Regions from separate parts of the Homo sapiens genome. Here regions 2, 3, 4, 5, 6 and 7 are each linked to region 1. Evidence: promoter capture Hi-C in human tissues and cell types (Jung and others, 2019). All regions are on one chromosome and are shown on one strand. The core of a region is centred on a gene start or on the middle of the fragment in contact, and the rest is flanking DNA. Distances in the headings are between cores, read along the strand shown. Region 1 holds the start of FOXG1 (forkhead box G1). Region 2 overlaps LOC102724934 (a long non-coding RNA gene). Region 3 overlaps LOC102724934 (a long non-coding RNA gene). Region 4 has its middle 140 kb from the start of LINC02326. Region 5 has its middle 120 kb from the start of LINC02326. Region 6 overlaps LOC107984685 (a long non-coding RNA gene). Region 7 overlaps LOC107984685 (a long non-coding RNA gene).

Evidence for each region. The method cuts DNA at HindIII sites, captures the fragments that hold promoters and counts their contacts. A contact is called where the count stands out against the background at its distance.
Region 2: a contact is called between a fragment that was not itself captured here and the fragment with the promoter of FOXG1 in region 1, in 2 of the 25 tissues and cell types used here (IMR-90 fibroblasts and lymphoblastoid cells).
Region 3: a contact is called between a fragment that was not itself captured here and the fragment with the promoter of FOXG1 in region 1, in 4 of the 25 tissues and cell types used here (IMR-90 fibroblasts, lymphoblastoid cells, mesendoderm cells and 1 more).
Region 4: a contact is called between a fragment that was not itself captured here and the fragment with the promoter of FOXG1 in region 1, in 2 of the 25 tissues and cell types used here (dorsolateral prefrontal cortex and lymphoblastoid cells).
Region 5: a fragment that was not itself captured here is called in contact with the fragment with the promoter of FOXG1 in region 1 in 4 of the 25 tissues and cell types used here (liver, lymphoblastoid cells, mesendoderm cells and 1 more).
Region 6: a fragment that was not itself captured here is called in contact with the fragment with the promoter of FOXG1 in region 1 in 1 of the 25 tissues and cell types used here (lymphoblastoid cells).
Region 7: a fragment that was not itself captured here is called in contact with the fragment with the promoter of FOXG1 in region 1 in 2 of the 25 tissues and cell types used here (lymphoblastoid cells and spleen).

Annotation. Positions count from the first base shown.
Region 1 is chr14:28,764,528-28,768,036 of GRCh38, forward strand. FOXG1 (forkhead box G1) reads left to right here and starts at 2,260. Exons shown (of 1, transcript NM_005249.5): 1 at 2,260-3,509. The coding sequence starts at 2,753. It overlaps FOXG1-AS1 (FOXG1 antisense RNA 1), which reads right to left and starts at 792. Exons shown (of 7, transcript NR_125758.1): 1 at 633-792. RefSeq lists an enhancer at 1,391-1,915. The HindIII fragment of the contact is 7,501 bases long and covers 1,709-3,509 here.
Region 2 is chr14:29,268,917-29,272,425 of GRCh38, forward strand. The region is part of intron 5 of LOC102724934 (a long non-coding RNA gene); the gene reads right to left. Among named protein-coding and RNA genes, the nearest start is that of LINC02326, 210 kb to the left of the region's middle. The HindIII fragment of the contact is 5,908 bases long and covers 1-3,509 here.
Region 3 is chr14:29,239,851-29,243,359 of GRCh38, forward strand. The region is part of intron 6 of LOC102724934 (a long non-coding RNA gene); the gene reads right to left. Among named protein-coding and RNA genes, the nearest start is that of LINC02326, 180 kb to the left of the region's middle. RefSeq lists an enhancer at 1,829-3,509. The HindIII fragment of the contact is 6,012 bases long and covers 1-3,509 here.
Region 4 is chr14:29,205,805-29,209,313 of GRCh38, forward strand. No RefSeq gene overlaps it. Among named protein-coding and RNA genes, the nearest start is that of LINC02326, 140 kb to the left of the region's middle. The HindIII fragment of the contact is 3,407 bases long and covers 1-3,339 here.
Region 5 is chr14:29,178,753-29,182,261 of GRCh38, forward strand. It overlaps a transcript of LOC107984685 not described here. Among named protein-coding and RNA genes, the nearest start is that of LINC02326, 120 kb to the left of the region's middle. The HindIII fragment of the contact is 3,859 bases long and covers 1-3,509 here.
Region 6 is chr14:29,143,259-29,146,767 of GRCh38, forward strand. The region is part of intron 9 of LOC107984685 (a long non-coding RNA gene); the gene reads left to right. Among named protein-coding and RNA genes, the nearest start is that of LINC02326, 80 kb to the left of the region's middle. The HindIII fragment of the contact is 5,947 bases long and covers 1-3,509 here.
Region 7 is chr14:29,098,045-29,101,553 of GRCh38, forward strand. All of the region lies in intron 9 of LOC107984685 (a long non-coding RNA gene), which reads left to right. Among named protein-coding and RNA genes, the nearest start is that of LINC02326, 35 kb to the left of the region's middle. The HindIII fragment of the contact is 4,658 bases long and covers 1-3,509 here.

The DNA of each region.
Region 1 (3,509 bases), core at 1,010-3,509:
AGAGTTGAGGAAAAGTAGGAAGAACGGGCCTGAAGAGGGGAGAAGAGTGGGAGGAGGAAAAGTGAGTAGGAAGGGGAAGGCCCACAAATCTCTCCAGCCGGTAGGCAAAGCCCATTAGCTCACCCGGCCCTGCGAGAAATCCAGAGCTTGGAAATAAATGTTTGGGACCATGTCACTATCAACACTGATTGTTGGAACCCTTGAATTTTTCCACATGTAAATACAGTTTGTTTTAAAGTGAGAAGATATGTAGACATAGGTAAAGATACATACATACAGTGGAAGGACATTTGAGGTTAGTCCAATATTCAAAGCTCCTTTGTGGCATTCCTAATAGATGCATATTTAAAATTCACTAGCTATTTGTAATTATCTATTATTCTCTCCAGTTTCCTCCCCCCCCCCCAACCTTTTCTCTCTTTCTCTTTCTTAAGACTGGGGGTGGGGAGGATGGAATAACCCCCTATTATCCTGAGTATTCATCAACCGCATTCTTTATGTTACAATTTAACTTTAGGATCAAGCATAAGCACCAATTTTCCTTCCTTCGTTTTCTTAAATACCAAATCTGCCAGATATCTTAATGAAAGTTTATCCAAGTGAAGAAATGCTTACATTTTATAATTATTTACCTTCTAGAGGAAGGAAAAGGTGCCTTTCATTTATGCTTCTCCACCTCCCTCTTCTCTGGGGCTACATCCTCCGTAAAATGTGGTATGTTTCGTGCCCATGTGGGATGAAACAGCCTTTGATCAATGTGCTCCCCACTAAATTCCAATCCCTGGGAAATGCTGGGCCTTAGCCCTGCCCCTGGCCACGGGATCCTTTTAAAGCCCCCGATTCGCAATTTCCCCATTCACTTCAACCTCCAACCGAACCTTCCCAGTTCCAAAGCCCAAGAAGCTGGGACTGTGAGATCCACGTTCCCAAGGCTCCCCGGTGCTTTCCAGCAGCACTCAGGGTTGGCAAGAGCTGGCTTCAGTATACTGTTATTTCAGGAATGAGGCCCGCACAAAATAAAAGCATTTGAGAAACGGAAAGGAAAAAAAAGGAGTGAAAATAGGAAGGCTTAAAAAAAAAACCGGAAAGAAATAGACGCCCACCCTTATTTTCCCTCCAATGTCAACAAGCAAAACGAAAATATTTCCAGGGTGATCGCTCGCAGCTACCCGCTTCCAATTCGGATTAGAAGCTGAGGCTGGAGCGGCGAGGAGAAAACGACATCGAGTCACCCCGCGCGTGAGCGACGCTCTGGAGCAGGAGAGAAGGAAAAGGAAGAGACACACGTATATAGCATGTGTTACCTGATTTATTTCGAGATTGTTTGGTACTGTTTTCTCTCTGGGCACCTCTCATTTCGGAAGGCCATCAGAGGCGCCCACTACTGAGCGGCCCCGGCCGCCGCAGCAGCACCCGGAGCCCCAGTCCCGGTTTCCCCGCGGTGCCGGAGCCCGGAGCTCGCCGCCGCCCAGGCCTCAGGAATCGAGTAAGTAACCCCTGTTTGGCCCCGCGCTCCTCTGCCCACTTCCTCCTCCTCATCTCATCGCTCCCAAAGCTCTCCCACACCCTCCTCCCCCGAAGTAAAGGACACCCCCGCACACACGCCAGCGGTGGGCCTTATCTCCCCCCTTATCCAAAGCTGCGCTAGACTATTACCTACAAAGGGCACAATTTTCCTGCTGGCTCAGAAATGCCAGACACTGGCCTGCAAGGCCGACTCGGAAAAGTAGTGCCTCGCCTCTACCTCCTCCATTTCCTGCCCTCTCGCATCCTCTCCCTGCACTCCCACTCTTCCCACTACCACCACCACCCCCGCTTTCAAAAATAAAATTGGATACAAACTTTAATCACTAAGGACAAATATTGACGCTTAAACGAAAATGACCCAGTACAATGAGGAGGAAGCCGGAAATGTGAGCTATTGGCCCTAGGAGGGGAATTTCGGTGGAGCGGAGCCGGCGGGGTGGAGGGGGTGGCGGGGGCGCAGGGAAGGGCTGCGGCACCGCGTGCTCCCGCCGGCGTATCCCTACGCGGCTCCGCGCGGCCTCGGGGTCCGAGGCCCGCGGAGAGGGGGAGGCGAGCGCCCGAGGGGGCGGCAGCCGGCGGGCGGGGCGGGGGTGGGTGGGCCCGGCCCCTCCGATTGGTCGACGGCGAGAGAGACGCTCCCGCACGCCGCCAGCTCTGATTGGCCCAGCGGTAGGAAAGGTTAAACCAAAAATTTTTTTACAGCCCTAGTGTGCGCCTGTAGCTCGGAAAATTAATTGTGGCTATAGCCGCCTCGATCGCTGTCTCCCCAGCCTCGCCGCGGCCGCTCCGGGACGCGCCCGCCCGCCGCCCGGCTCTCCCCCCCTTTGGGCTGCTGCTGCTGCTGCTGTGACTGCTGCTGCGAGAGGAGGAGGAGGAGGAGGAAGCAGCGGGGGGGGGAGCGGGGGGTGGGGGGGGAGACCAAGAAGTACAGTTGGGAGCGAGGGAGCTTCACCCCCGGGGCGGTGGTTGTTTCTTTTTTCTTTCTTTCTTTTTTCTTTTCCTTTTTTTTTTTTTTTCTAATTCCTGAGGGGTGGTTGCTGCTTTTGCTACATGACTTGCCAGCGCCCGAGCCTGCGGTCCAACTGCGCTGCTGCCGGAGCGCTCAGTGCCGCCGCTGCCGCCCGCGCCCCCCGCGCCCCGTTCGGCACCCACCGGTCGCCGCCGCCCGCCGCGCCGCTGTCCCGCTCCCGCGCCGCCGCCGCCGTTTCCCCCCGACGACTGGGTGATGCTGGACATGGGAGATAGGAAAGAGGTGAAAATGATCCCCAAGTCCTCGTTCAGCATCAACAGCCTGGTGCCCGAGGCGGTCCAGAACGACAACCACCACGCGAGCCACGGCCACCACAACAGCCACCACCCCCAGCACCACCACCACCACCACCACCATCACCACCACCCGCCGCCGCCCGCCCCGCAACCGCCGCCGCCGCCGCAGCAGCAGCAGCCGCCGCCGCCGCCGCCCCCGGCACCGCAGCCCCCCCAGACGCGGGGCGCCCCGGCCGCCGACGACGACAAGGGCCCCCAGCAGCTGCTGCTCCCGCCGCCGCCACCGCCACCACCGGCCGCCGCCCTGGACGGGGCTAAAGCGGACGGGCTGGGCGGCAAGGGCGAGCCGGGCGGCGGGCCGGGGGAGCTGGCGCCCGTCGGGCCGGACGAGAAGGAGAAGGGCGCCGGCGCCGGGGGGGAGGAGAAGAAGGGGGCGGGCGAGGGCGGCAAGGACGGGGAGGGGGGCAAGGAGGGCGAGAAGAAGAACGGCAAGTACGAGAAGCCGCCGTTCAGCTACAACGCGCTCATCATGATGGCCATCCGGCAGAGCCCCGAGAAGCGGCTCACGCTCAACGGCATCTACGAGTTCATCATGAAGAACTTCCCTTACTACCGCGAGAACAAGCAGGGCTGGCAGAACTCCATCCGCCACAATCTGTCCCTCAACAAGTGCTTCGTGAAGGTGCCGCGCCACTACGACGACCCGGGCAAGGGCA
Region 2 (3,509 bases), core at 656-3,155, 500 kb after region 1:
GGTAGGAAATTTAAGATAATCTTGGGGCATCTTATCATACAAGAATGTGAGAAAACTCTCAAAGCCTCCACGGCTATATCAAAAAGCCTCAGAAGTCAACTTAAATAAGGAGTTTAATAATTATTGCAATCAATAATTGCGATAGATTGAAATACATCAAACACGTTCTAATCCATGAGCTCATAATAGTTCTTTAAAAATGAAGAAATAAAACTCACTGGTCAACTTTGGAAGATGCTAGGAAATCAACTTAGGAAGATGCTAGGGAATCAACTTATCAGTTTGCAAACTGTTTTATAAAGAGCAATAGACATCTGAATTTTCTAAATGAGCTATAAATCAGTGTAATCAAATTATTTATGAGAAGTTTCATGTTATAGTAGTATTTCAGTTAATAAAAGATTGAAGTAGAATATCGCCATTTTGTAATAACTGCTATAATACCAACAGGGAAACAAAAGACAATGAAATAGTACACAACACAACCTATAAACAATTATTTTGGTTTTCTGTTTCTGTTTTTTTTGTTTTTGTTTTTTGTTTTTTTGAGAAAGGGTTTTGTTCTGTTCACCTGGACTGGAGTGCAGAGTGCAGTGGCGAGATCACAGCCTCGACCTTCTGGGCTCAAATGATTCTCCCATTTCACTCTCCAAAGAAGTAGCTGGGACTAAGGGGGCACGCCATGCTCGTCTAAATTTTTTTTTTTTTTTTTTTTTTAAATACAGGGTTTACCATGTTGCCCAAGCTAGTCTCGAATTCCTGGGCTCAAACAATCTACTGTCCTCGGCCTCCCAAAGTGCTGGGATTATAGGCATGAGCCATGGTGCCTGGCCCAATTCTGGCCAAAAAAAAAAATTGAACCTAAATCTGTTCAAGATTTTAAATTCAACCACCATTTTCAGGAATACATAGGGAACAGAAGTGCATAGCAAATCCTACCCTGAGTATGTGGTCAGCAAAATAGAGACTGTGTTTCAAGAAAAAAGAGGTGAAAGATGAAACTAAAGATTTAAAGAGATTTCAGAAACATAAACCAACTCAAGTGAATGGGCCTTATTTGGACAATAATTCAAAGAAATTAATTATAAAGAAATTTTATATAAAAATTGAAGAAATCTAAACACTGATTGCATGTTTGGGATTGTTAAAAATTATTGATTTTTTAGGTATGAAAATGGTATTATGGTTGTTTGTTTTTCATTATTCCTTATCTTTTAGAAATTTATATTAAATCAATAGGTGAAGTGAAATGATGATGGGCTTCAAAAAATCTGGAGGTAAAGTAGGTAGGCAAGAATATAGATAAAATAAGATTAGTCATGAATTGATAATTTTTGAAGCTGAGTGGTGAATATTTGGGGGTTCATTATATTCTCTTTAATATTGTTTGAAATTTTTCCTAATAAAAGATAAGAGAAAGAAATTCATATTATTCCATTCTTCTGATTTCTTACATCAGGTTCTCCTTTTCCTGTACTAAAAAAAAACTTACCATCACAGTGGTTTCTTTAACCAGAATTTTAACCCCTAAGCTTCATGTTGAACATGCTCATTATGTTCATTCTCTAAATCTTAAAACACAACTTTCTACAAGTAGCTACTTTGCTCTGAACATGTAAGTGGTTCTCCACTTTCCTCAAAATAAACCTTAGTTTACTCTTTATTTGTAGTAAAGTATCTTATTTTCGAAATACTTTAAAATCTGTTTCTATCCAGCTCTCTGAATATTTCTTTTAGTTTTCCTTATGAACTCTAAGGTATGGTCAAAGCACTCTTATTTGTATACTGGTCTACTTGTCCTTAGAAGAGGCCGTAGGAACTTCCTCTTCTGTCTTGTAGTACGTCTGTCTCAGTAGGTATATTTATATTTATCTGAATGTGTTTCTTCCTCAAAGACCAATTCAAGTGTCACCTGCTCCATCAACCTTTTTCTAAAGACACTTCGGTCCACAAACAATTCTCTCTTTAAACTCCAGAATAAATTATTTCCTTACTACTCATTTTATCACATGCTCCTCTACATGACTAGTGTTATTTTAATGCACATATTTTACTTTTTCGATGTCGGGGACTATGCCAGATTTCTATGTACTCAAGAACCTACTGCAGTATCTTACATAATTTTCCAACAAATGTGTGTTGTTGTTGTGGTTGTCATTGCTGCCATTATTGTCGTTGGGGGTGGTGATGTTGATGATGATTGTGGTGGTAATGATAATGATGATAAAGGAAGTTCATTTGACAATAGTTGTCAGGATCCCAAAATTTTTCATTAAGATGACCTTGCCTCTAGATACTTATGGCTAAATTTGAGAGTAGTAACTCACAGAACTAAAACTTCAACTTTCCTATGGTCCTCAGAAGTCTAATTCATGTGTTTCAATAACTTAGTCTTCATAATCAAGATGATTTAAAACATACAAGTAAGCAAATGAAAGACAAAATTTAATTTTCAAAATTCTTCATCGGCTTTCTACTTCTCAGAGGAAAAATTACAAATGTCTTGGTATAGCATCAAAATTTTACAGTCTGCTCTAAAATCCAAAATCAAATTTTATTCTCATTGTTTCCCTTTATGCATACACTACTTCAGTTAAAATCACCTAATTTTAAGTATCTTTGGAATTATTCCTATATTGGCATTAAACTTCCTTAGTTTAGATCTTCCCAGTTTCTTAGATTGTTTCAATCCCTTTTCTAAAGGAGCACCTGGCCTCTAAGTGTATACTTTCCATTTCATGCTTCACCCTTCACTGAAGCCCAATAAGGCTTAACCCTGCTTAAAATTCTTCTTTGACTGTTTTAGATGTAAAGGCTAAATGCTTTAACATAGTGTTCTGGATCCTTTAAATGATCTTATTACTTCAATATCTATTATATGTTTGGGACTTACTACAGAGTGTAAACACTATACACCCAGTCCTATGAGCTATTGTCTAATGAGGGGGAAATGGTTATAAACCAACAGATATAAACATGTGATAAAGAACAAGAGCTATGACACATACACACAAAAAATACATGCCATGAGAAGGAAATTTAAAAAAACATATTTAGATTGAAGATCAGAAGAGGCCTTTCTACTGAAGTAACATTTAAGTTGATTCCTTTATATACAGAAAAAGTTACCTGAGATAAATTTTGAGAAGGCTCTGAAACTACACAGAGCAATGAATTCGCAATATATACCATCTGTGTTTATTAGCTGCCTGATCAAACATTATGTTTTAGAAAAACTGATGATAGGAACTCTTTATGTAAATTATCATGACCCTTTGTATTATACACTACAAATATTTTTCTAGTCTGCTGTGTGTCTTTTATTGTTATCCTTATTTTTCTATCAGAAGTTTAAATTTTTCAACAGTCTTTCATAGGTCTATGGCTTTGTGTTTCCTGCTTTCCCCAACCACAATATTATTATAAATATTCATATATATTTCCTTTCCTACTGTTAGAATTCTCTTTTTTATATTTACTCTTTCATCCATCTGATTCTATGTTTTACA
Region 3 (3,509 bases), core at 412-2,911, 470 kb after region 1:
AAAATGTAACCTTAAATAAAATATGTCCACAGGGAGGGAGGCATAGGGTTCAGATAACACAAATCAATGGTATTCTAAAATGGAATTTATAACTTCTGTGACTTGTCAATGTTAAATACTAAAAACCTGTAAGCTCCAGACATAAACGCCTTCAGAGTGTGCTTAAGGAAATAAGCTCTCAGATTTAATACAATTTAATCTCATGACTACAAATCAACTATCTTTCTCTTATAATTTGTTGTTATGGAAAACTATGAACTCTTAAGTGTACTTAAAACCAGGAAATGTTCTTCTTAGTTTATACTAGTTATCAAAAGCGGTGGAAGAACATAGGAAGCTAACTCTGAGAAGCGGATATCTTTAGTAAATATGACTAAGGGATTATGACTTTTGTTGGTCACAGTGAATTGCCAGAATCCAGTGATTCAGGCAATTGTTTTTGCTAAGATGGTTTGATATAAGGTTATTTCTTTCAGGCGTAATATTTTTTAATGTCAGCCTTTACTAACCAAAGGAAAAGAGTCATGAAAAATGGATGAAGAAACACATTTTAATCTAATGAATCATATCCTAAAAAATGACCAGCAAGTATAGTAGAGACATAATAGATTTCCTAAAGTTAAAATTACTAGTTATTTGCATAATCCCAACATTTGTCTGTTAAAACTAAATGTACCCACATATTTTTTTGTTTCAAAAAAGAACAGCAGGCAAAATAGCCATAGAGTGAAAATTCATGGATCTGACAAAAATTATATATGATAAAGTCGATTTATGCTGAATAAATCCCCAATTTACTTTTTCTTTATTCGAAGTTTGAATATAGAACTGCTTCTTAGTTTTATGCCAACTTTTGAATAAATGAGTCATAAGAAGTAAAGCTATTTGTTGATAACAGAAAATATAATAACAGTAATCACATTTTGACATTTCTATTGCACCTTTCACCTTGATAAAATCTAAGGCAATTAATCTGAAAGTCATTTCTCTACTCAGAATTTTCAAGCCCCAACTAAATCCAGTTATCTTCTAAGTTACCTCGAAGTGTAAGCAGAGCATCCACTGCCCTGTTGGCCTGTCAACCTACATGAATAGCACTTGCTGCTAACAGACTTCTGAGGCCAGGTGAATGTATATGGACCTTTAAATAATGGCCAGTAGGTCAAAAAAGCTAATGTCATTTCATATCCAGTAATGAATCATACAACTTCACTGACATTATATGTCAAGGCTAGGTATGCCCAGCCACTAAGCAGTTAATCTGTCAACCCAACAGAATATTAGTATCTTGAAGTTTTAAGGGCACTTGTACATTGTATAATTTAAATTCCAGCCAGGAAACAGGAAACAGTTTTACAACATTTCTGTCTTATCAACTGACTGTCTTAACATCTTCAGTAGATGGGCAATTCTAAGTGTCAGGAGAATATCTATGTTGTCTATAGGTTTAATCTTAGATGCCTATTTTTTATGTTGCTAAACACATATAAGACTTTCTAAGTATTTAAAAATCTGATGAATAAAAATTTAAAACACTATGCTAAAGGTACTAGAGGTTAAAAACCTCTAGAGTTTTTAATTGAGTTAGAAACACTATTGTAAAGGTTGGAATATAGCTTCACAGCACAGTGGTTGCACAAAGGAAGGAATAGCCATTCTACCTGGGTAAAAGAGTAGATCAGATAAGGCTTCATGGACATAATGTTTTATGGAAAAAATGTTATGCAAAAAATAGTATGGAATAAAATTTTATTTGCATTATTACCTAAGTTACATAAAGAAAAAAATGAATAACAAAATGAAGGAGGCCAATGTATTAAACATGGTGCCTTTGCAGGCTTGAATGATGGTTTTTGTTTTGTTTTGTTTTGCATAGTTAGGGGATCATGTAATATTTGATATTCAGGTGAAAAAAGTCAAAACAACAACAAAATTTGTGGGAACTAGAATAAAACACATTGGGTCTACTTGAGGAAGAAGATGATTTTTTTCATAATCACCCCTTTCCTACTTTAATTAGCTAGCATCAGAGAAGAGAGTACTTTCAAGAGAAAGGGTAAAGAATCCTAAATGGATCTACCACAGAGACAAACTTAATAATTCTACTACCTCTACAACAGTTAGATAACATTCACCGTGAGACAGCTGAGTATATGTCGGCTTCTAAACTATAGCATGCAGGCACGTAAAACAGTATTTGCATTAACACACTCTTTATGAAATGAATTTGAAAGACTTTTCTGAGTTGTCCTGAAAAAAAAAAGCAGCCTCCCACAGCTGGCTCCTCTATTTTTGGCTTCTCCTATCCCTGTTTTCATGGCAGCTGAGAAATATTAATGTGAGAAAAGTATCTTTTATTTTAGTCTTTAGAAAAGAACTCAACAGAAAACCCTGCAACTTCAGCAGTAGATGATAAGAGTTCCAAGATCACACTGTGGAAGTACATTATTGAAACAACCTGTAGGAAAGGGAACATAATATAAAATAATATGTTCCACTTACATATGACATACCCAAAACTTATGCTGTTTACATATAATGATTAAATTAACATATTTTGCCAAAAGTTAATAGGTCCCCTAGGAATGATTATATAAAATAGGTTTGTAATCAATCTCATACAGAGAAAAGGCACAGTGGAAGAAAAAAGATTTATTTGATCCACCACCATTCAACAGAAACAAGTGATGAATAGATCTATTTGAAGATTGGAGAAACATTTAGCTTTATGAGAAATTTTCCTCCTGATGTTTCCTATGATACATGCATACATATAAAATCAAATGCTTCATGACATTAATCTAGAAAAAAAGTACCTGCCACATTTGATTCAGCAAACTGGCTTTTAAAAAGAAATACAGAATTTTAGTCCCATATCCAAACCACATTTGAAAGAGTAATGACAAGTTACTTGAGTTTTATTGACTCAATCAGATCATATGGTGAGTCATTTCCAGACATATCGATAAACTCATTGATTCCTCTCATTCTTGTAGTCACTGGACTATAGAAAAAAGGATCAGTAGCCATTTGACCTTCATTGTGTATTAAACAAACACCAGATGGCAAGGATTCATTCAGGAAATCCATTCTTTCTTCTTCATAGTCATGTTCACACTGTTGCTTCCCACTGAGCCTTTATCTCTGTTTGTCATGGTGCCAGAGCTGCCTGCATAGCACCTTTCATGCATCACAGCTTTCAAATCTTGTCCCATTAGTTTCATTTTGTTTCCATCATAAATAATCTTCCACTTTCTCATACACTCTTTCATTATCTAATAATGGGCTGGGTCATTATACAAAGGAGCCAAGTATTAAAGGGTTAGTGAATACAGTTTGTCCACTTGGTTTCTGGCCAGTGTGTGAACTATTTATTAAACAGATGAATTTATGCAACTAAAAAAAAGAGAGACCTAAAGAATACAAACATCCTCATCCTGCTAACAAGTTTTCAAGAACACTAGACATAAAAATGAGGACATTTTAATCTCAAATTGGAAACTTTAAAG
Region 4 (3,509 bases), core at 386-2,885, 440 kb after region 1:
AATAGTCTAGGTTGGATGATGTATATTTATTAGCTTCAGAATCACATCTGTGTGCTCAGATTGGAGGAAAGGTCATAAACACAATGAATGTTGCTAGGAAACCATGCCTTTTAGTCAATTTAGTTGTGAAGATGAAAGGAATTTTTTTTTTTTTGGTACAAAGATGGGCTATTTGTAAAGTACAATGAATAATCATTTTATTTTGATCTTTGAATTTATCATTTAAAAAATAACACTTTTCATTAGTAGCTTTTCCTATTTATTACTTGGATTTCAAATGTTTGAAATTCAAGACATCAATGTAGCTTTCTATGAAAAGAAAGATTCGTGGCAATTTTCATTTAAAGAAAATAATCTTGGTGAAATTCAGGGATATCTAATCCTTAGGGCAGCCCATATGAATCATAAAAAGATTAATAATCAAATAGTAAAAGTCAAGGAACAAGTAGCTAAATCCCTTGAAATAGCCATTAAAAGGATTTGAAAGCTCAAGTGCTATAAACAACTCTGACACTTCTTTTCGTGTTTCAGAACTACAGGACTGTGATCCTGGAAACTTTTCACAAAGATTAATCCGAAAGGAAACAGACATGTTTTACTGGTCAACAATAATTAGATGGTCCTTTGACATAATTAAGTACTCTAACTCCACAGGACTGTATTAGCCTACTTACATACCTAATTAGAAGCTTATGTTGTCTGTGTCTGTGTTTATTGATTTTGAATCAAAACGTAATTTTAACCAGGTAGGTTTTTATTGGATCAATTTTACTGGAATATTTAAGCAGTATTTGTTGGTACAAGTTATATTAATGACGAAAAATCCAGCAGATTAGCACTGCAATAGACATCTGGTTTTTTAAGTATGGGGCTTATATCCCTTCTTTAATAATTGTTTCTTGTTTCTCTCATTCCATTTGATTTGAGTGGCTCTGTTAATGGTTTGGCTTCATCTTCCCTCCACACAGGTGGATATGTCACTCAGGCTGGCCAATCAGAATAATCCCAGGTCACATTGTGTTTGAAAAAGAGAAGGAAAGCTAGTGTGAATGGCACCTAATTGGTGTGAGGTGATAGGAAATGAAGCTGGGGAAGTAGGTAAAAGCCAGGGTGCATAAGGCCTTCTGAGCCAGAGTCAAAAAAATGGAATTTATCTAAGAAGTGTGTTAGAAAACTTGGGGTTAGGCAGAAGTGTGACATGATCTAATTTATGTTTATAAAAGATCACTCAAGCTGCTAAATCAGAAAGGATTGAGGGACTGAGCAAGCATTTTGGAGGCTATGACAATAGTGTTTGTGAAAAATGATGCTGACTTGGGCTAGGGTAGTAACAATGGAAATGGACAGAAGCTGATGGACTCAAAATAACTTTTGCACATGGAGCTAACAAGTGTTGCTGGCAGATTGTATACAGGGTATGTGCCTAAGAGAGAACTCAAGGATGACTCCTGGATTATTAGTTTGAACAACAAAGTGTGGCATTGCTATTATGTCAATTGGAAAGCCAAGAGGAAGAACTGGGTTAAAGGTGCAATTAAGAGTTTTGTTTTAGGCTAATTAAATTTTAGAGTATCTCCAAGTGAAGATGTTAAGTAGGTAGCTGGCCATGATGTTTAGAAAGACAGGATAATAAAGACCAATTTTTGAGTCAATTACAAATAGTTAATATTTAAATCCATGGGACTGATTGAGATGACTGATGGAGAAAATATTGATAGGAAAAAGAAAAGGACTACAGACTTTAATAAACAATGTAGTTAATTTAAAATGCACTAGATGATTAAGAGTAATTTTGGTAAGGAAATAAAATGCCACATTTTTACACTTATTTACAAAGGTTTTTGGTATTATGTCACATCCATAATACCCAAAATTAAATGTATTAAGCATTCAGACAAGTCATTTTTACCACTGCGTAGATGGAAAAATTGAGGACTGAGAGATTGTGTCCAGACCTCACCACCAGTAAGTGATGGAGTCAGGCCTAGAACAGAGACCTTTCTAACTCTAATCCATTGCTTTTTCTGTTACACATTTTGGAAACTCTACTTGCAAATACAAGACCCTCAGGGCTATTACTGATGCTATTTGCCTCTACACTAACATCCTCAGTTTTTAATGCTTGAGTTCCTATGTCTAATTAGTTTTCTATCCTAGCCTTTGTTCTCTAATGTCACTTCTTGCTGCAACCTGCCTCAGAGTTTTTCCCTCTAGTGATCTACTGTTATTATTCTATGAGCTGTGAAAATAGATGTAGAATTATTATGAATACAATAAGTTAAAATAGTCTTTGAGAGGCTCTGATTAGTTGTATGCCATGACCTTACTGCATTGTCTTGAAACATATATCACAACTATTCATGGCCTTTCACTTATTATCTCATTGTTTCTTTGTATTTCTCTTATGAACTGAATAGGTTGTCAAATAAATGATTTCTGATGGCTAGTGCAATTTTGTTGTTGTTGTTGTTGTTGTTGTTTTATTTGTTTTATTATTATACTTTAAGTTCTGGGGTACCTTGCAGAACGTGCAGTTTTGTTATATAGGTATACATGTGCCATGATGGTTTGCTGCACTCATCAACCCGTCATCATCTACATTGGGTATTTCTCCTAATGTTATCTCTCCCCTAGCCCCCCCTACCCCCCAACAGGCCCCAGTGTGTGATGTTCCCCTCCCTATGTCCATGTGTTCTCATTGTTCAACTCCTACTTATGAGTGAGAACATGCGGTGTTTGGTTTTCTGTTCTTGTGACAGTTTGCTGAGAATGATGGTTTTTCAGCTTCATCCATGTGCAATTTTTAACAGTCATGCATCTTTTTCCTGGACCACATGCTGCACTAGTCCACATTGTTAAGTGTCGGTTTCACCCTCAATTTCTGGGATAGCGGTTCTAAAAGGTCACAGTGAAGTTTTGGTTATTCTTTTTATGGAACTTATAAGAAAATAATCCTAAGATGCACTTTAACAAAGGCAGCTGAAATTTTAAAAAATCACTTACTTTGTATGTGACTATGACATTCCAGGGAGCAAGGCTTTCTCTCCCCATTCAGTTTGGGTGTTGGTGGGGACGCTAGTCACTACCCCTCTTCTTGGTCATTGTTGGGGCTAATCTTCAGATTTCTGCGCTTTTTCCCTTGGCAGAGGCATTCTGTGGTCCCACTATTGCATTCCTCTCATCTCTCAAGCAGTCTAGATCACCACTATGTTTAAAGACTACCCATATTTTTTTCTTACAAAATAGACTCCAAAGTTCTGCATTTTCCAGCTGTTTCCTCAAGCAATCACAGAAGAATTTTATTTTTATTTTCTTGATAGTAGGGGATTATTGAAAGAATTTTAGCAGAAAAGTGACATAGTTTACAACAGATTATGATGGCAGCAACATAAATAATGGCTTTGAAGGGATGACGATGATGATGGTGGGGAGTAGAACAATTACAAAGCAAAGTTTCTAGTGAGAGTCAAAAACTTCTCAATAGTGGCCGACTGCGGTTGCTCACACCT
Region 5 (3,509 bases), core at 410-2,909, 410 kb after region 1:
TCTAGTTTTAAACATTATTATTTTCATAAATCTACATAGAAGACTATCAAAAATGTCAACACACACAGGCACACACACTCACACACACAAATCTTATAAAAGAAATTTGGAAAACAGATCATTCATTACAAAGAATGAGGAGAAAAAATAATGGAAAGTAATTTACTATTTGGTCTTAATAAATGCCATCTTCTCCTGAATTTTTCTCTTCCTACATAGTTTCAATAGCAATAAGTATGTTTCATCTGGCCTTCCAGGTTTCTCAGTGAACACCCCCCACAAAAAAAATTATTTAAGTCCAATCCTGCAACTGTATTTTCTCAAATGGTGATGGAATAAAAGAGAGGGATGGGGAAGAGTAAAATTCATCATAGACACATTTGCTGAAAAAGTCTGGCAGATGAACAAAACATGATTTTTTGAGAGGCTCTGTAATGGATAGTTCTTTTTTCTCACTTATGTACTTATGTGAAACTAGGAAAGATAGTAAAGTGCAAAAAAAAAATCTACCAACTAAAAAAAATTACAAAATCTTAGCAGCTTTGCCTGTAGCGACTTATAGTTAAGTTATCCAAATGCTCTTAAAGCTGCCTTTTTATTTTCTTTCATTTTGACACTATAATATACTGTTTCATTTTCAAAATCAGAATGTGAATCGGATAGATGCAGTAAATTGATAAATTCTACATCTGTGATTTTCTCTTCAGTAGTAGAAATAATGTCATATCTTAAGGTCAAAGATTATTAACCAGAAATCATTAAAACTACTGAGTTTCAAATAGTTTTCTTATCTTCTAGAGGAAGAGGCCAAGAAGCATATTTAAATTTTTAACATTTTTTCCACACATTAGTTGGGCTACATTTTTATTTTTAAAGCAAAATTAAACAAATATGTCCACTTTAGGGAGATTCTATAAACCATTCAATTCAGTTTAGGTTAACAAGAAACTGAAATCCATAATAAAATATGTTGTTGAATTGTCATTTTACTTACTAATTTCTTCATAGCTTCTTACATATTTTGAATACATTCCTCACATTATTTTGGAAAGGAAAATACAGTTGTTTTCTTTTTTTTTTTAAGAGGCTTTTTGATGCTAACAAATAAGCTTATCCTTCTGGTATACATGAGATGGCATATTGAAGACACTTTTTCTTAATAACATCTACTGGTAATCATTTAGAAATTGTGGAATCTCTATTGAGGCATATAATAAGCTACCACTGAAACGGAAAGATTGCTAGATTATCTCATCGACAGAGTTCACTCTTTTAGTGCTGTTCCCCCAAATAGCTATCCACAATTTACTTTTAGGGCTATATGCCCTAAACTATTTATGTGATTGCCAAGTACAAATTGTTCTGATATTCATACTGTGTTGTAGGGCACATTGCTCTGTTAAAAAGAGGTTTCCTAAGGAATCTGTTTGTTTTATTGGAATTCTGGTGTTTGTAATGTTTCTTTTAATGAGATGATGAATTTATGGTTGAGGCTGTGACAAGAGTTCAGTCTTTTCGTTAGAATAAAGATTGCCGGCCAGGCGCGGTGGCTCACGCCTGTAATCCCAGCACGCTGGGAGGCCGATGCGGGTGGATCACGAGATCAGGAGATGGAGACCATCCTGGCCAACAAGGTGAAACCCCGTCTCTACTAAAAAAAATACAAGAAAATTAGCCGGGCGTGGTGATGGGCGACTGTAGTCCCAGCTGCTCGGGAGGCTGAGGCAGGGGAATGGCGTGAACCCGGGAGGCAGAGCTTGCAGTGAGCCGAGATCACGCCACAGCACTCCAGCCTAGGCAACAGAGTGAGACTGCGTCTCAAAAAACAAACAAACAAACAAAATTGCTTCTCCAGAGCTGACAAAATCCTTCAGTGTCACTGAAGCTCTTTGTCTGGCTGTAGATACTCAGAATAAAGCTTTGAGACAGTGGAAATGACTTGCTCTTTGGCAAGTCTCTTCACATTTCTGCCTCTACCCTATGGGGCAAGTCTTATACAGCAGCTTCAGAACAGGAACCTGACTGTCCAATCTAGATTGTTAATCTTATTTTCCAAACCAAAATAGAAACCAAGAAATGGAGCATATAGCAAGCTAATTATAATCTAATCAGCTTTTGAAATTTCAGTCAAAAAATAACACAAAGATTTCCCCTTAACAGAATGGAAATATTGAGGTGCAGTTTATGTATCAGAAAAATGAAGGCAATTATGAGACAAGAAGGCTCTCAGAATTTTCACAAGAAAAAATGTTGAGAAAATGTTGAAGTGGGAGAAGGTTTGCACTTTTTTTGTATTTTTTTTAACAGAGATGAAATATAATACTGGCTTGTTAGAGATCATCTGAATCTGGGGGCATATGGAAGCAAGTATTGTAAATGCCATTCTGAAACAGGTAGTCTTCAACCATAAGGAGTAGTTTGGTTAATATCTGGGAAATACTACTCATTTAGTCTTTCCCTTATACATAAGTCACAAAGCACGAAAAGAAAGACTTGGAATGATAAAAAGCATGGCATATTTAGCAAAGCAGATACGTAGACTTCAAGAGGTATAGATTTAAAAAGAGTAAAGTTGAATGAACTAGTCATTTTAGCTTGTTATTAAAATAAGAAACTGAACAAATGGCTGGATTTCTGAAAATGCTAAATTCGAATCCTGATTTGATAAAATACTTGAGTTTTTTAACTTAAGGAAATCATTTAAATCTTAATCTGTAAATGAAGAAAAAAAAGAACTGCTCTCACTATATAAGGATTTTGTGGAGAAATATGCAAGAACAACATGCCACACAAATGCTAAATAATAGCAACAAGGGTGGTAATACTGCCAAATGAAACTTCTTTTTTGTCAATTAGTTTAATGTCAAGATTGAATCATTTCAAACGTTCACATAACAGGACTTTACTAATCACTATGAAGCACGGCCCAGGCCAGGGAAATCCATATGTCTTTTCAGTTCCCAGATCGGCAGTGCACAGATTTTTGAAATTGCTTTTTACTAATGTCCGTAAGTAGATGAACAACACTAGACAAATAATGCTCTCAGAGTTTTATGTTTTCACGGTTTTTTTCTTCCTCACTTTTTATTTCTGTGCTCCCTGTCATACCAAGGAGTATAACCTGCTGCTTAAAATGGTGTTTAATAGCATATAGTAACTCTCAACTGAAATTCATGGAAAGTAGTATGCACAGAGGAACATTTCAGAATATTTAGTTTTTTTTTTTTCTCTTCTTAAGAATTTGGACACATGAGTCCTTTTACTTTTGAATTTATCTAAGTGATGCTTCCTGCCTCATGTTTAAACACCTTTTTTTTTCTTTTTAGTCTCACGTGAATGCTGAGAGAAAATCTATTATTGTTTCTAACTTGGTAGAGAAAATGTAACATAATAACTAGTGTCTGACCATGTATGAGAGGCTCATTTTTATCTTCTTAAGAATAAAAACCAGGAGTGTGCTAATAGATAAGGTAAATAGCTCATCATTTTGTTTCTGAGAATTGTTTAGG
Region 6 (3,509 bases), core at 658-3,157, 380 kb after region 1:
TTATGGTTAATTTTTGCTATCCTGCAAGTTGTCAAAGGTGCATTGACTATTTTCAAAGCTTTGTTTTACTTGTCACCTTTGATTAAGAATATAAATAAAGTAAATGACGAGTTGATGAGTGCAGCAAACCAACATGGCACATGTATACCTATGTAACAAACCTGCAAATTGTGCACACGTACCCTAGAACTTAAAGTATAATAATAAAAAAAGAATATAAATAATCTAAATAAAACCTCAAGAATGAAAATTTCGATAATATTTGTGTTATTGCAGAATGAAGCAGAGCTCCACATGCAACATAAAATAGAAATTTCCAGCACTGTAAGAGATTTTCATTGCCCTTTCTATGTAGTTGGATTAAGAATAGTTTAGTCAAAAGGTTTACTTTTCCCATGGCTATAATATGGTGAGGGATAGTATGATTTCTCTAAGTGCTAAGTTTAATTATTTCATGATATTTTATACATGGTAATTCAACTCCAAATTAAAGTAACTCATCTCATTGTGTATTCAACCACATGAGGTCAAATTATATCTTTCACGATTATTTTGCAGGCATAGGTTTTTGCTTTCAAAGATAATTTACTTAGTTTCAAAACATAAAACAATCTTCCAGGTACATGATTACTATGAAAACAAGGTTTCAAAATATTTGATTTCAGAAGTTCAAGAAGGCAAAAAGGATTTATTTTTGCTTTATATTTGTTTTGTTTTTCCCCAAATTATGCCAAAAACATTTTCTGATATTTCAATAAATGTCATTTCTGATATTTCATATATTCCAGTAACATGTGTGGCCCACCAACCTTTACCCTACTTTTTTCTCATGAAACAAAAGCAAGAGGAATTCTTACTTCATGCGTAACATATACTTTACCCTGTGAAAATCTCAACTGAAGGATGATGCTAAAGCTAATAGCTTTGAAAGTTTAGGAGAAAATGATTAGAAACTGATATGAGCAAAACTAACAATATGTGGCTAATAAATTAGGATAAAATAACCAGATATATCCATGCTTATTCTGCAGAACATAATCTCCTAACATTTGCGAAAACACCCAAGCCTTATTCTGGGATTACATGACATGCCTGCATTTTACCACTAGTTTATAAAGGGCTGTTGGTTCTATCATTTTCCCAGTATGACTAATTTTTTAAGTCTTGATAACTGGTCTATTATTTCTACATATCCCACCATAACCCTAAAAGGAAACATAGAGGTAAAGGTTACAAAAATGTTTTATCTGCCACACCATGAAATCTGTCCTACTTGCAAGTGAAAAGTCTCCTGTAGAACCCTTTCTTGCCATCAAGAATCCAAATTAGCAACAGCTTGCAATGATAATCAGTTCATTTCAGTGTACTCAAAATGGGCTCATTATTATTAATTTTTGCCAACTCCCAAGCAATTCATGAACCATTTTTAGATTTTCAAAAAGCAGTTCATGAATCAGACAAAAAAAATTTAAAAGGAACCCATCCCACAATGAGATGATGACTCAGAGTCCTTTGCTGTAGCTGTGTCAACTGCCGAGCATCTGAAATCTGATGAGGATGGGGTTGATGGAGAAAAGGCCATGATGAGCATGAAACAATGTGTTGAATTTACATGTTAAAACTTCTTGTTGGTTTTGGCAATTTTGCTGAAGATTATTGAGAAATCCATAACATCTGGATGTGGGGGAGAAGCTCCACTAAAATGATGAAGTTTATATTGGTCGACAAGACTATAAATGGAAAAGAAAGTAGTTTCTTAACACAGCTGTTTCCAATTTTGTTAACATTTTAGTCCAAATTCATTTGAAAAAAAAAAAAGAAATAACATAAAACTCTTATGTTTGAGATATACTCTACAAGTCTGACTTGATGTACACATGCTGAAGACATTCTTGACTCAAACTAGCATATCTAGAGAATGGACAAATGAGCCCTTAGTCCTAAATCTAGGCCCTATCTGTCTTGGAAATGCACACCAGTGTAAGGCATTTAGCCATGGAATCTGGATTTCAAAGTCAAGTAATCCTTTTAGGTTAATTTGTTTTTAAGTGAAATAAAACCATCAGACTCCTGGCACTGTCTTATGTTGCAGTACATGTCATATCTCTCGTGCCTTAGAAAACGATATAATTTAATGGGTAGTTCATTGATTCAACCTCAAAGGAACTAAATTCTCTCTGTTCTTTCACTGACTTGGTGACTTTATATTCATCTATTCTTTCTGTGCTTTATTTTTTCCTTCTGCAAGGTGGGCAATATGCAATAAGACTTAAGAAAATATATGCAAACATGTTTCCTTGTGCTCTTGAAGGAACACTGAATAAATCAGATACGTTAATATACCTATATTTGCGTATATACGTACACATGTACAGATATGCATATACATACACATACAAACATACAGATAGATGTATGTATTTATTTCCATCAATGTCATTTTGGCTTCAAATTTCCCATTTTTCTGTTATTAGTCTTCTTATATCTTTTTAAAAAATATTTTACCAGGAAAAGTGGCAAACAGTTGAAAATTCCCTATTCTATTTTTTTGCCTCCTCTTTCCTTCTTTTCCTTTCCTTTTCCTTTTCTTCTGTTGCAGCCCTCAATTTTTTTCTGTTTTCCTGCACAAAGAACAAAAGTGAAATAAGAACCTCAGAGATAATAGGCTCCACTCTTGTTTTCCTTTTATGGATCTCTGAAGTCATTATGCAGCTGAGTAAAGTGGGAACAGCATCTTTATAAAATGTTCTGTTAGCTTGCTGATGCTTTTTGGCTAAAGATGACTCTTAAATATTGATGACAACTACAAGTTACTTTCAATGCTTTTATTTTCAGAATTCAAGATTTGGTAAAGGCATGAGCATACTGATATCAGATAGATTGGTTAGCTCTCTTTGACGTAAGTCAAGCCTGGGACAGCAAGATGTTTTAAAGATCATCAACAATATGATCAATATAGATTGCCAAAATCAATTCTGGAGTCTGACTCTGCCTGCTGTGAGCAGTTGTCATAATGTTCTTTGAGAAAATTGGCAAGAAATGATGAGGATTCTGTCAACAGACATCCATCAATAGAAAATAATCCCCCTGCAGACATATTACACTCCTTTTGCCTTTTCTTTGCAAATAAGTCATAAATAAGGAAATCCTGGTTAAACCTTTGTGATTAACTGACTTAATATAATAACTTAACTAAGATATTTCTTTGTTTTGAATAAAGATATTAAATGAAAGTTTGCATTTCTCAATTTATAAAGTACTTCAGACTTCAGAAATAGTACCAGTACCCACCACATGAAATTTATTCAACACCTCCAGAAGTGATTTTCAAACTTGGTCGTCTCTTTTCCATAGTTACAAAATTTCATACTTGGAGAGCTTATCAATGGGCTTTGGTGAGGGTCATTTTTTATTTCACAGGTTTCCACTTTGAGGAAGCTGGGTATTTGTTTGACTATACCATTTTTGGCTTTACAGTTTTCCACATAGGACCCAAAGATGCTGAGAAT
Region 7 (3,509 bases), core at 346-2,845, 330 kb after region 1:
GCAAAGTGCCTGGTTCCTAAATAATGCTTAACAAATCCATCATAATTGCTGTCATGATGGTTATAATTTCCAACCATCAACTCTCAGCATATACATTTTATGAATTTTCAAACAGTAAACTAACATCCAAGCATTCGTTTAGTTTTCCGTGAGCACAATGAACCCATTGGTTCCCATCATCTCCGTGGCATATCTTCTTTCCCTGGAGAGAAGAGCAGTAAATAAAAATGACAATGACAATTATTTTTGCAAGAGTTTCCTGAACAAAAGGATAAGAGTGAAATGTTTGTTAGTAAACTTCAGCTCCATGGTGAGAAGATGTTATTAGCAGAAGCTGATTAAAAAACAAAATTTTGATAATTTTAAAAGGTAAATCATTTAAGATCCTTCACGCTGTAGTATAACATAGGCAAGTGCATTGATTTGGAAATAACAGTCTTATTTACTAATTACAGAAGCTATTCATTTTGTACATACTGCACTCCCTTTCTTTCCCCTCTCTTTCACCCCCTCATTAATAGATTTAGAACTGACAGTGCTTTCACTTCTAAGTATAAAGAATAATTTTCTTCTGAACATAGAGACAACGATGAAATCAAAGTTTAAAATATAGTCCTCTTCTAACAGCGATTCAGATTTCCATTAAACCTCCTCCCACCCTCTCAAATTAAAGTTTGAAAAGCAGAGCTCAGAAATAAACTGACAGGCACTAGTGCTTCGTTCATTTCCAGCAAGGAAGCACCAATTTGATTCCTACCATAACAATTTTTGCTGTTGCCAGTGCATCAGATTTTTTTAACACAGCTTCTCAAGTGATAGAAATCATCCCGTCACTTTGTTTCATAAAATTGACACCCTGGGGAAATGCAAAATATAGTAAGAACTTGAGCAAAGCTTCTCCTCCAACCCCTGCTAGGTATTCCTGAAATCCTTTTTTTCCTCTTAAACGAATGTCATCAATCCCAATTGCTTGTTGTTCTTTTCTCCTTGTTCTGCTCATGTGCTACAACATCCCTTGGCTTCCCTGAGCACAAGAGTTGGTGTTTTTAAAAGTGTTACTCATAGATAGGATTCTACTGCTGGCTGATTGGAATGCAGCGACAAATAAAAAAAAAGAAACTTGATGAAATTATTTCACACACAGAGCAATAAACATATGGAATAAATTACTACAGAAGACGATTCAAAGAGTTTAAGAAACACCTGGATTTGTTTCTGGAGGCAGTCGATTGGAGAGTAGCATTAGAAACAGGAGGGTGAAATAAAAGCAACACTCAAGAAGCCAAGAGTCAGGGCTCTAACCTCTTGTTGAAATGGCACCTCCTCTTGCAGTTGCTGCACAGGAGTCTATTAGGGAAAGACTTCTCGAATACACTGGGAACAAGTCAGACTAAGTCACAGGAGCTACCTTTCTAAAGGGGCTGGTCACTGGATTTCACTAAAGGAAGTAAATGCTGGAAGATTCTTCTCAATCCAGAAAGAGGGGAATAATGTCTGAATATGCAGGAACTGAAACTCAGCAATTGGTTTGAGATCTGGTGAAGGCTTACCATTTTAGCCACATCTCAGACCTCTTTCCACCACCCTTCCTCCCTATTCTCCAGGCATATTCCGACTGTTCAGACATGATTGACGCCCCTCCCAATCTGTACGCATGTTGCTGTTACTTTTCCCAAATCTTCCCTTCATTCTTCAGTACCGAGGTCACCCTTTCTGTGACATCTCAGTTTATATTAATGTCTCCCTCTGTGTCCTATACCAGATGCAAAATATCTTTATGTGTTTATTAATCTTCACCTCAGCACTCCACAAAGTGCCTGGCTCATAGGAGATGTTTAGCATATAAAACATTTATTTTGTCTTACTTTGTTCCAGAGAAGAATTAAAGTGTTTGATAAAATAATAGCTAACATTACCAAGCCTTTAACATGTGCCAGGCACTGTTCCAAGTGCTTCGCATGTTTTAACTCATTTGGTGCTCATAACGGCACTGAGGATGAGCAAGTTTGCGATGTAGGTATTAATGTTATCCCTATTTTGAAAGTGAGGAAATAGAGGTGCAGAGATTTGGGCTAACTTGCCCATGGTCAGCCAGCTAGGGAAGAGCAAAATTTGGGTTGGCCTCAGCCAGAGGTTAGTTGGTTCCAGAGGCAGTATTCTTGACCATGACTCTGACTACCTGAATGCCTAATGTAGCAAGGAGACAAAAATAGGAGAAAGTGATACGAAATAAACAGCTGAGGTCACAAACAAACTCTTAATTAGGCTAATTAAAAAGGCATATTGTAATGCCCTATACACATTTTATTATTCATAATCCAATTTAAGAGATAAACTTTATCAATTCGTTAGTTAAATGATGAAACAAAAGCAAATCAGTTACTCAGGAGGTTATTCTTGATAACAAAACCTGAATTTTTTTATCCTATGCGGTTCATAGAAGACAATGGTGCATTAAATTGTTCCTTTATTCAACCATCCAAGTGTTCACCTATCCAAATAGCAGACCTAGGTATTTAAGCAGCTAGGAATAGTGGGTTTCAGGACAAACACTTTGTAAAAGTATATATGACTATACAAAATGATATGCACTGATTTTACATATCTAAATGGACAGTAGACATCCAATCATTCAACAAATAGACGTTGAACCTCTACAGTGTGTCAGGTGTTATTCTAGGTCCTAATGACTCAGTGATGAACCAAAAAAAGGTATCGTTCCCCTTTTGGTTCATCATATTGCCCTCATGGAGCTTAAGTTCTAGATGAAGAGGCAAATGATAAACAAATGATAATGTCAGGTGGGGTTAACAGCTAGAAATTAAATAAAACATTATGAGGATAAAGAATAACTAGGGAAAGGGGGACTCTCTTTTAGAAAATATGGTTAGGAAATATCTCTCTGAAAAGATAATAACTAAACAGAGACCTGAGTCAAAAAAGATATCAGAGACTGTTTTCTACTTTTTCCTTAATTATTCCAGCTGGAAATCCAGATGAAATGTTATCACTTATTTGTGTAACTTCAGGCAATAGAGAAAAAATGTATTTGATGATTTGTTCTGTAAATCATCCTTTCTTCCTGATATGTTCCTTTATTAGTGGTAAATACAAATTTTTTGGAGGCCTGAATATAAGCAAATGAAGACAAAGAATGGGGTAAATTTGATACCCACCAATCCAGCAACAGTCTGTAGAGTGGTGTGATTAATTTAGTCTAGTAAAAATCCAAAAGCCTACACTGACCATCAAAAGGAAGACAATTAGAAAAATAATTAGAAATCTTAGAGGTGAACTATATCACACCTATTTCAAAACACTTGTTCAATTTGGTTTTCAAATAATAGGATTTGGTGGGGCCTGATGGCTAAGAAGTATTTTAATAAATGGTCCAACTTTGGGAAATATAATGTTTTGATCAGATGCTACAGGTTATTATATTCAACTTATGAAAATATTTAAGAATTCTAGACCTGGGTGTTTGTCATACCTGTCATTGCTGGTCATTT